2 separate regions of the Homo sapiens genome follow, and region 1 is linked to region 2. Evidence: promoter capture Hi-C in human tissues and cell types (Jung and others, 2019). All regions are on one chromosome and are shown on one strand. The core of a region is centred on a gene start or on the middle of the fragment in contact, and the rest is flanking DNA. Distances in the headings are between cores, read along the strand shown.

The links. The method cuts DNA at HindIII sites, captures the fragments that hold promoters and counts their contacts. A contact is called where the count stands out against the background at its distance.
Region 1: a fragment that was not itself captured here is called in contact with the fragment with the promoter of SPSB1 in region 2 in 1 of the 25 tissues and cell types used here (pancreas).

The regions. Positions count from the first base shown.
Region 1 is chr1:9,565,148-9,569,861 of GRCh38, forward strand. It overlaps SLC25A33 (solute carrier family 25 member 33), which reads left to right. Exons shown (of 7, transcript NM_032315.3): 3 at 2,137-2,214. Among named protein-coding and RNA genes, the nearest start is that of TMEM201, 21 kb to the right of the region's middle. The HindIII fragment of the contact is 4,117 bases long and covers 170-4,286 here.
Region 2 is chr1:9,291,481-9,296,203 of GRCh38, forward strand. SPSB1 (splA/ryanodine receptor domain and SOCS box containing 1) reads left to right here and starts at 1,414. Exons shown (of 3, transcript NM_025106.4): 1 at 1,414-1,591. RefSeq lists silencers at 1,079-1,248, 1,299-1,378, 1,449-1,518, 2,059-2,348. The HindIII fragment of the contact is 10,751 bases long and covers 1-4,723 here.

The DNA of each region.
Region 1 (4,714 bases), core at 978-3,477, 270 kb after region 2:
AAGATGAAAAGGTTCTGGAGGTAGATGGTGGTGATGGTTGCACAACAGTGTGGATGTACTTAATGTCACTCAACTGTACACTTAAAAATGGTTACAATGTGGCTCTCGCCTGTAATCCCAGCACTTTGGGAGGCCTAGGTGGGTGGATCACGAGGTCAGGAGTTCAAGACCATCCTGGCTAACACAGTGAAACCCTGTGTCTACTAAAAATACAAAAAATTAGCTGGGCGTGGTGGTGGGTGCCTGTAGTCCCAGCTACTTGGTAGGCTGAGGCAGGAGAATGGCATGAACCTGGGAGGCGGAGCTTGCAGTGAGCTGAGATCATGCCACTGCACTCCAGCCTGGGCAACAGAGCGAGACTCTGTCTCAGAAAAAAAAAAGGTTACAATGGTAGATTTTCTATTATGTGTATGTCATCACAAAAAAAAAAGTTTAAAATTAAAGCAGTTGGCTGGGTGCATTGGCTCACGCCTATAATCCCAGCACTTTGGGAGGCCAAGGCAGGCGGATCATCAGGTCGGGAGATTGAGACCATCCTGGCTAATGCAGTGAAACCCCGTCTTTACTAAAAATACAAAAAATTAGCCGGGCGTGGTGGCGGGTGCCTGTAGTCCCAGCTGCTCGGGGGGCTGAGGCAGGAGAATGGTGTGAACCTGGGAGGCGGAGCTTGCAGTGAGCCAAGATTGCACCACTGCATTCCAGCCTGGGTGACAGAGTGAGACTCTGTCTCAAAAAAAAAAAAACAAAGAAAAGAAAATGAAAAACGAAAAGCAGTCACGGTATAATCTTTGGACTTGAGATACTAGGCTTTGGTTTTAAATAACCGTCATCCGTCCATGAAAATTATTAGTTTTCTATTCCTTAAATTCTGCCCTCCCCCGCCAACTTTTTTTTTGTTTTTAATTTTTGAGACAAGGGGTCTCTTTCTGTCGCTAAAGCTGGAGTGCAGTGGCATGATCATGGCTCACTGCAGCCTTGACCTCCCAGGCTAAGTGATCCTCTTACCTCAGCCTCCTGAGTAGCTGGGACCACAGGCACACACCACCACACCTGGCTAATATTTTTCATTTTTTGTATAGATGGGGTTTATACTGTGTTGCTCAGGCTGGTCTGGAACTCCTGGGTTCAAGTGATCCTCCTACCTGGACCTCCCAAAATGCTGGGATTACAGGTATGAGCACTGAGCTGGCTCTATTCTTTATATCCCTGTATAAGATTCTACTACATTAGGTAAAGATCTAGAAGATAGGATTGTTAGAAGCAGTAAATCCAAAAGAAATCTCTGAACCTGTTTCTCAGTGAATCTTATTATGATGAGGAAATTATTCCCTGTGTGGCACCCTCTGCCAGATACTCATCCTGCTTTCACAGGATTTCATTGTATAGTACAGACTCTGCACAGCTTCCTCCTGTGTTGGGCCGGGTGTGGTGGCTCATGCCTGTAATCCCAGCACTTTGTGAGGCTGAGGCGGGCAGATCACCTGAGGTGAGGAGTTCAAGACCAGCCTGACCAGCATGGAGAAACCCCATCTCTACTAAAAATATAAAGTTAGCTGAGCGTGGTGGTGCATGCCTTTAATCCCAGTTACTCGGGAGGCTGAGGTAGGAGAAACGCTTCAACCTGGGGGGCGGAAGTTGCAGTGAGCCGAGATCACGCCATTGCACTCCAGCCTGGGCAACAAGAGTGAAACTCCGTCTAAATAATAATAATAAATAAATAAAAATACAAAATTAGCTGGGTGTGGTGGTGAGTGCCTGTAATCCCAGCTACTTGGGAGGCTGAGGCAGGAGAATTGCTAGAACCCAGGAGGCAGAGGTTCCAGTGAGCCGAGATCATGTTACTGCACTCCAGCCTGGGCAACAGAGCGAGACTCCATCTCAAAAAGAAAAAAAAAAGGGAGAGAAAGAAAATATGTCTAACTGATGCTTTTTGAGGCATGTTTTTTCACTGTGCTAATGATAGCAGTATTCTACAGCCTTCCGATTCTGTATTGTAACCAAATCAGATAAGAGTCGAGCTTGACATCTCTCAAACATTTTATTCTCTCAAGGAACTAATGAGAAGGTTGACTCTTTATCATTTTTAATAGGCCTTGCCTGAGGGGTTTTAAAGGTTTGTCTTTTCTTATTATTCAGGTCGATCTTGGAGAAAGAGGGACCAAAGTCACTTTTTAGAGGCTTGGGTCCAAATTTGGTTGGAGTTGCACCATCAAGGTAAGCATTAAACTTTCCAGCTAGCTCATGCTAAGCAGTATGGAATTCTGGGTCCTTTCTTACCAAAGGGTGATGCTGCTGAATGACCAGTGTCTTTTTCTATGTTGGATTTGCCTAAATATAGCGGACATAGCAAATAGTCATTGAGAATGCTAGGCGTGTCTTCAGTGTGTGAAAGAAAGGATTCTACTTACTGTATTCTTTATATTCTTAAGTGTGAAAATTAATCTGCTATCATTACTGTAATGTACTTTAAGTGTTTGCTACTCTAAGTATGGCATGTGGCCAGCAGCATTAGTATTGTATGAGAGCTTGTTATAAACACACAATCCCAGGGCACATCCCAGACCTACATCAGAATCTGCATTTTAACAGAACCCCCAGGTGACTCCAACGCAGTTAGAAACACTGATCCAGAGGAATTGTAAAGGCTTTTAACTTCACTTTCTGTAAAATGACATCCTCATATCTTTGCAGGGCTTCTCCTGAAAGCCTGTTTGAAATATACAGAACTGTACTGTCCCAGTACATAAGGGTAGTCACTGGCCACATGGAGCAGTTTAAATGTAAATTAATCAGAATTAAAGGTTCAGTTGCTCAGTCTTCATGTTTCAAGCACTCAATCTCCACATGCAGCTAATGGCTACTGTATTGAAGAGCAGAGATACAGGGCATCCTATCTTGGCAGAAAGTTCTCTTGGATAGATAGGATAGAGAGGATAACAGTGTATGATTGTAAAAGTAACAGAGACAGATAGAGAATAGCATATCTGGAAAGTAGATTAAAAACTGCTTCCAGGCCGGCTGTGGTGGCTCACCTGTGTAATCCCAGCACTTTGGGAGGCTGAGGCAGGTGGATCACCAGAGGTCAGGAATTGGAGACCAGCCTGGCCAACTTGGCGAAACCCCATCTCTACTAAAAATGAAAAATCAGCCAGGCATGGTGGCAGGCACCTGTAATCCCACCTACTCTGGAGGCTGAGGCAGGAGAATTGCTTGAACCCAGTGGGAGGCAGAGGTTGCAGTGAGCTGAGATCATGCCGCTTCACTGCAGCCTGGGTGAAAGAGTGAAACTCCATCTCAAAAAGAAAAAACAAAACAAAACAAAAAAACTTCTTCCAGAAAGGACCTCCTGAGAAGGGAACTGGGTGGCAGGGCAGGACACTTAACTTGTCATACTCCAAGAGACTTGAAAGAAAATGAAGTCTGGCCGGGTGCGGTGGCTCACGCCTGTAATCCCAGCACTTTGGGAGGCCGAGGCCGGGGGATCACGGGGTCAGGAGATCGAGACCATCCTGGCTAACGCGGTGAAACCCCGTCTCTACTAAAAATACAAAAAACTAGCCGGGCGTGATGGCTGGCACCTGTAGTCCCAACTACTCAGGAGGCTAAGGCAGGAGAATGGCATGAACCCGGGAGGCGGAGCTTGCAGTGAGCTGAGATCGCTGCACTCCAGCCTGGGCGACAGAGCGAGACTCTGTCTCAAAAAAAAAAAGAGAAAATGAAGTCTTACAACAAAAATGAGAATGTTGTCTTATATAGGGTGAAGACCAAAAGCTTATAGAATTCTTCCAGATCAGTGCTCCAATTTAAACATAAATCGGCTGGGCGCAGTAGCCCACACCTATAATCCCTGCACTTTGGGAGGCCGAGGCAGGCGGATTACTTGAGGTCAGGAGTTTGAGACCAGCATGGCCAACATAGTGAAACCCCATCTCTACAAAAATACAAAAATTAGCCAGGCGTGGTGACATGCATCTGTAATCCCAGCTGCTCGGGAGGCTGAGGCAGGAGAATGGCTTGAACCCAGGAGGTGGAGGTTGCAGTGAGCCCAGGTCACGCCACTGCACTCCAGCCTGGGTGACAGAGCGAGAACTCCATCTCAAAAAAAAAAAAAACACAGATCACCTGGGGATGTTATGAAAAGGCAGACTTTTTTACTGCTTTTGTTCCTTTAGAATTTTGTAGCAAGTATGTGTGATGTATTTAAAGACAGAAAGTACTAGTCTGTGAGATGATCTGGGGTGTGCCTTATTCATAGATGGGAAACCTACTGCCCATCTGTAGTAAATAAAGTGAGAAGAGCCCTCGCTGCTCACAGGCAATGCTCCTACAGTGTAACCCTGGTAACCTGATGCAGATTCCTGACTGCCTCACCCATTAGGGGAAATGGAAGACTTTTAAAACACAACAATGATAAGTAGTTAAGATCCTAAACTGCAAAATATATTCTATGATTGATTCATTGACCAGCAGAAGAAAGAAACATTTTCCCTGCATTGCTGGTGAAAGAGCAGGAAAAATCCCAAGTAGCTCCTATTTCCCAGCCCCAACAAGAGGGAAGACAGCAGGGGGAAAAGTGAAGAGAAAACAAGGGTGACGGGACCACTTTGCGGTAGTCAAGGCAGGGGGTGGCGGAAGGGCCCTTTATGAAAACACAGGTATGATATGATGGCTGTTCCTGTGTGTTCCCGAGTCACCCAAAAACAGTTCAAATTAT
Region 2 (4,723 bases), core at 164-2,663:
AGCCTGGTCCTGAACTTCTGACCTCAGGTGATCCACCTGCCTCAGCCTCCCAAAGCGCTGGGATTACAGGTGTGAGCCATCATGCCCGGCCAATTATTATTATTATTATTTAATTTTTGTGCAGAGTCTGTGTCTTGCTCTGTTGCCCGGGCTGCTCTTGAACTCCTGGGCTTAAGTGATCTGCCTGCCTCAGCCACCCAAAGTGTGGGGATTAAGGGCGTGAGAGCCACCACCTCCAGCCTCAAGTGATCTTTTAAATGGGAAGCACCCCTAAGCTGCTGGCCATGGCTGCCCACCTGACTAGTCTGGGTTCAACATTCCTAAACCGCTGGCACCTGGAAAGTCAGAATGCCCACTCAGGCCCGCCCAGCCCAGGGCAGTTGGTTGAGTCTCCGTAATCCTATTCTGAGTTCAAACAAAGCTAAACCAAACTGATTTTCAGCACCGTAAAATGAGAGACATCAAACTTTGTAATCTCACAGTTCAATTGGGTTCCAAGCTCTGGACAGCTGGCCTCGGGCCAGGCACTGTTTCCTCGCCTTTACAGTGAGTGTGTCATTAGTCCCACCCTCACTGTACTGGGTTATGGTAAAGACACAGTAACTACGGAAGCCCCGCTATTTGTTTCGGCTCCCCCAGAAAGGCTAACTCCTCACCGTTTTCAATGGACACTACACAGCGAGGGGTGGGGAATGCCAGGAGATTTTGCTCTCAAAACAGCAAAGTCTTTAAAATCTTCCCAGTCCCAAGTGACTGCTCTGTTCGGGGAAGGGGGAGGAAAATTCCTTGAACGAGCTAGAGCCACAGGACAAGTCCCCAGAGGCTGGGACCTGTTCAGGGAGCAGCCCTGCGGATGCCAGGTGCCCGCGCCCTCAGGGTCTCGAGGTCCGAGGCCCCCGTCCCCGTGGGCACCGAAACGCGAGCGGCCGAAACAGCGCTGCAGGAGGCTCCCTGGACCCCCGGCGGCTGCCCACTCGTCCCCGCTGGGCACTTCAGAGGAGGCCGGCGAGGCCTTGCTCGGGGTTCCTGGGACAACCCCACTCTCCGCGAAGATTTCTCCTTCTCGTAAGACCCCCGCCCCCACTCCAGCCTCCCACGGCTGCAACCCAGGCCCTGCGCCACGCGTTTCCCAAAGACGCCTCCGGAGGGACCCGAGCTTCGGGCCGGCAACACCAGGGCGGCGGCTCGGGAGAGGGCTGCGGACTAAGGGGGCGGAGGGGGCGGCCGAACCAGCGCCGGGCTGACGCGCCCCGCGCCCCGCGCCCCGCGCCCCCGGCCTTCCCTGCAGTGCTGAGTGGTCCGTGCGCCCGAGGTCGGGGGCGGGGCGGGGCGGGGCGGGGCAGGGACGGCCCCGCCCACCGGCGCTTTTCTCTTTTTTTTCACTTTAAAGCCGTCGGTTGCTTTTTCTCCTCCGCACAGAAGTCGCGCTCGGGCAGCCTGCGCGCTCGCAGCAGGAACCAGGCTCCAGGCGCCGGCGCCGGGGCCGGGGCCGCGGGGAGGAGGCGACTTCGCTCCCTGCGGCGGGCGCGGCCCGGGCGCCCGAGCCTCCTCGGCCTTGGAGAGCAGCGGCGGCGGCGGCACCCCGGGCGCGGTAGGCGGCGCGGGGCACCTGGGACCCCGATGGGTGGGCGACCGGCCCGGGAGGGGGAGGCGCGGGGGGCCGGGCGAGGGCGGACGCGGGGATCGCGCCGCTGGGGGACCGAGTGGGTGGCGCGGGGCCGGGCGCGGGGGAGCGGGTGGAGTACGGGATGGGGACTCGGGGCGCGGCCCCTCCCGCGGTGGCTCCGGGGGCGCCTCCCTCGCCGCGGCTCCTGGGAGAGGGGCCCAGGCCCGCCCCGCGCTGCCGCCGCTGCAGGGCAGGGGGTCCCGGGGCGAGGCGCGGCGGGGGTCTCGGGGCGCGGGGACCGTCGCAACGAGTTGCGGTCCCGAGGAGGGGCTGGGGCGCTCCGGGGCCGCCGACCCGTCCCCCCTTTAGCCCGGGGAAAGCGGGACCCCGCTCGGCTGAGTTAGTTTCGCTTTTCCCGCCAGTCCGAGTCGGGATTGGCGGCGCGGCCCGGTCCCCCGTCGGGGCGCCCCCACCCTCCCGCAGCGCCTCCCCCAGGGAGCCTGCCGGGGACACCCGAGCGCCGCCCTCCCCGCCGCCCCGGAGCCGCCGCGGCTTCTCCCAGCAGCGGAGGGAGAGCCGGAGGGTTGTCAGGAAATCGATTAAATCAGAAAAACAAGGGCGGCCTGGGCCCGCGGGAGGAACCGCGGATGGGTCACCGTCCCCGGGCGTGTACTGGGCTCGGTGGCGTCCAGGTTCCGGTGAGGACGGGACGGCCCCGAGAGGAGGGTGCGGGTCTGCAGGAAGAGCGGGTGTCTCTGAGAGTGCATCTGCGTGTGTGTTTGTGCATGTCCTTGTGAATATGTGCCTGCGTATGAGTGTGTCTGTGTGTTCATGTGGGTGTGTGTGTGAGTGTGTCTCTAAGTGCATCTGTGTATTTATGTGCCTCTGAGTGTGTGTGTGAGTCTGTGTGTCTGTCAATGTGTGCCTGAGACTCTAAGTGACTGTGTGTGTGTGTGTGTGTCTGAGTGCGTCTTTGTGTATTTGTGTGTGCCTCTCTGTGTATGTCTGTGTGTCTTTGTGTGTGTCTGTGTGTGAGTGTGTATGTGTCTTTGGGTGTGTGTCTCTGCAAGTTTGTGTCTCTGAGTGTCTGTCTCTGCAAATGTGTGTCTCTGTGTCTTTGTGTCTGTGTGTGTCTTTGCGTGTGTGTGTCTTTGTGTCTCTTTGTGTGTCCACACGTGTCTCTGTGTCTGTCTCTGTGTCTGTGTCTCTGAGTGCGTCTGTGTATGTGTGAGTGTCTGTGTGTCTCCAAGTGTGTGTCTGTGTGTCTTTGTGTGTGTTTCTCTGTGAGTGTGTGTGGGGACCATCCAGGGGGCCCTCTGGTTCCTAGGTACTGCTCCTCATGGTGATTTCTTTACTTGGTTCTGGATAGCCGGGCATGCTGGGCCACAGACACCCCACTAGGCAAGCCCTGCTGGTGCCCCCGAGGAGAGCGCAGGCTCTTCCTCTCTCCATTTCTCTGAAAATGAACTACACAGTTTGGGGGTGAGTTGGCAGGGGCTGCTTCCTGAGTGAGTAATATTTAATTAAACACTCCAGTCTGTAGCATCAGAAACTGGTCATGAGTTGAGTTTTAACAGGTGTTCATGGTAAAAGCGCCATCCCTGGTGACTAAGGTTTGATGTCCTTGGAAGAATTTTCTCGTTGGGGGGGCTGGGCCCACAACTTCATTTCTCATCGTGGGGTGTGAGGAGAACAGCAAGCAAGGAAGGGGATGGGGGCCTCTCCCTTCTGCCCTGTCCCCCTCCTCAGACCCCCCTCCCAGTGGTGGAAAGCCCTGGGCTAAGCATGGGCAGCACAGGTGGTCTCTCCACACTGAGGAATTTTGGAGTCAGGGAAGTCCTGTCTTACTGTCTAGGCCAGCCTGTCCTAGAGAGGCCCAGAGAGGGCGGTTCACTTACCCAGACTGCACAGCCAGGGCTGTGGACCAAGACTCCCCAGTCCTGAAACTGTTGCTCTTGGTTACTGTCCCCAGCACTGAGGTCATGGGCCAGGCACTTCGTGTCTCCCCAGCTGTGAAGTGATGGGCTGGATTAGATCATTTAAAGCACTCCTGCTCTCTTACAGCTGCTTTTCTTCTGCAGGGAGCACTTTACCCAGTAGATGGAGTGTGTGTGTGTGTGTGAGAGTGTGAGTGTGTGTGTGTGTGTGTGTGTGTGCGCGCGTGCGGTTGGGGAGGTGTGGAGTGGACTAAGGCAATCACTTTACAAGTCTTCCTTTTCCAGTCTGGCTACCACCCTAGCAGCAGAGAAAACAAAAGCAGTAGCATGTTGGCCCCAGTGGCTCAGACAGCCCCGAGCAGGGAGCAAGGCGGGTGCCATGCCGGCTTAAGAGAGACCTGGCCCTGGGAAGAATCAGTGGGTTTCAGGGCTCTTAGGAAGGGGTGGGCCTGCCTGGGGCCCTGGTGATGTCACTTTGGAGCTGGGTGAGGCCGTTTCTTGGGCTGCTGTAGTAAGGCTGGATCCACCCTTCAGTGGGTCCCTCTGGGCTGCTGCAGAATCTCACCCCCTTGGAATCATCACAGATGTTGAATTTCTTCACCAGAGCTGGGGAATGGGGTGGGGGCCTAGCCCGTGGAAGCCAGCGCTGCCCTCCCACCCCCATGGTGTGTGCCGTGCTCCCTTCCTGCACCTGCCCCTCCTCCTGGGTGGATGGAAACTTGCCTGCAGACGCATTTTCAAATTCAGCGAAACCTCTGATTCTTACGGTGTTCATGAGTTCGTCTGGGCATTTTGTATCAATTTTTCTCGAGAAATAGGTTGTAGCTGGTGTGCATGACTCAGTGTATCTTTTGGTTCTGAAAAATTTTATCAGACGACAGCACAAGGTCAGGTACAGGTGTGCCTCAGTCTGCCCAGGGGTGTGTTATCCTCTCCCCAGCCCTCAACACTAGATCAGTGAAATCCAGACTCTAAGGGACTTCGATTTTGGACTTTCAGTGAGTGCTCTCCCCTCCCCCAGTTATCTGATAACATCTCCCCCAGTCTAAAGTTCCACTGGCAGCCAGGTGCCCGGCTCTGTGCTACAGAGTGCTTTATGGACGTGACTTTGTTTGAATCCTAAGCATAATAATAGCGGGAAATGGTTTCATGGTTTCACGGTGCGTGCGAGTACTGGCTC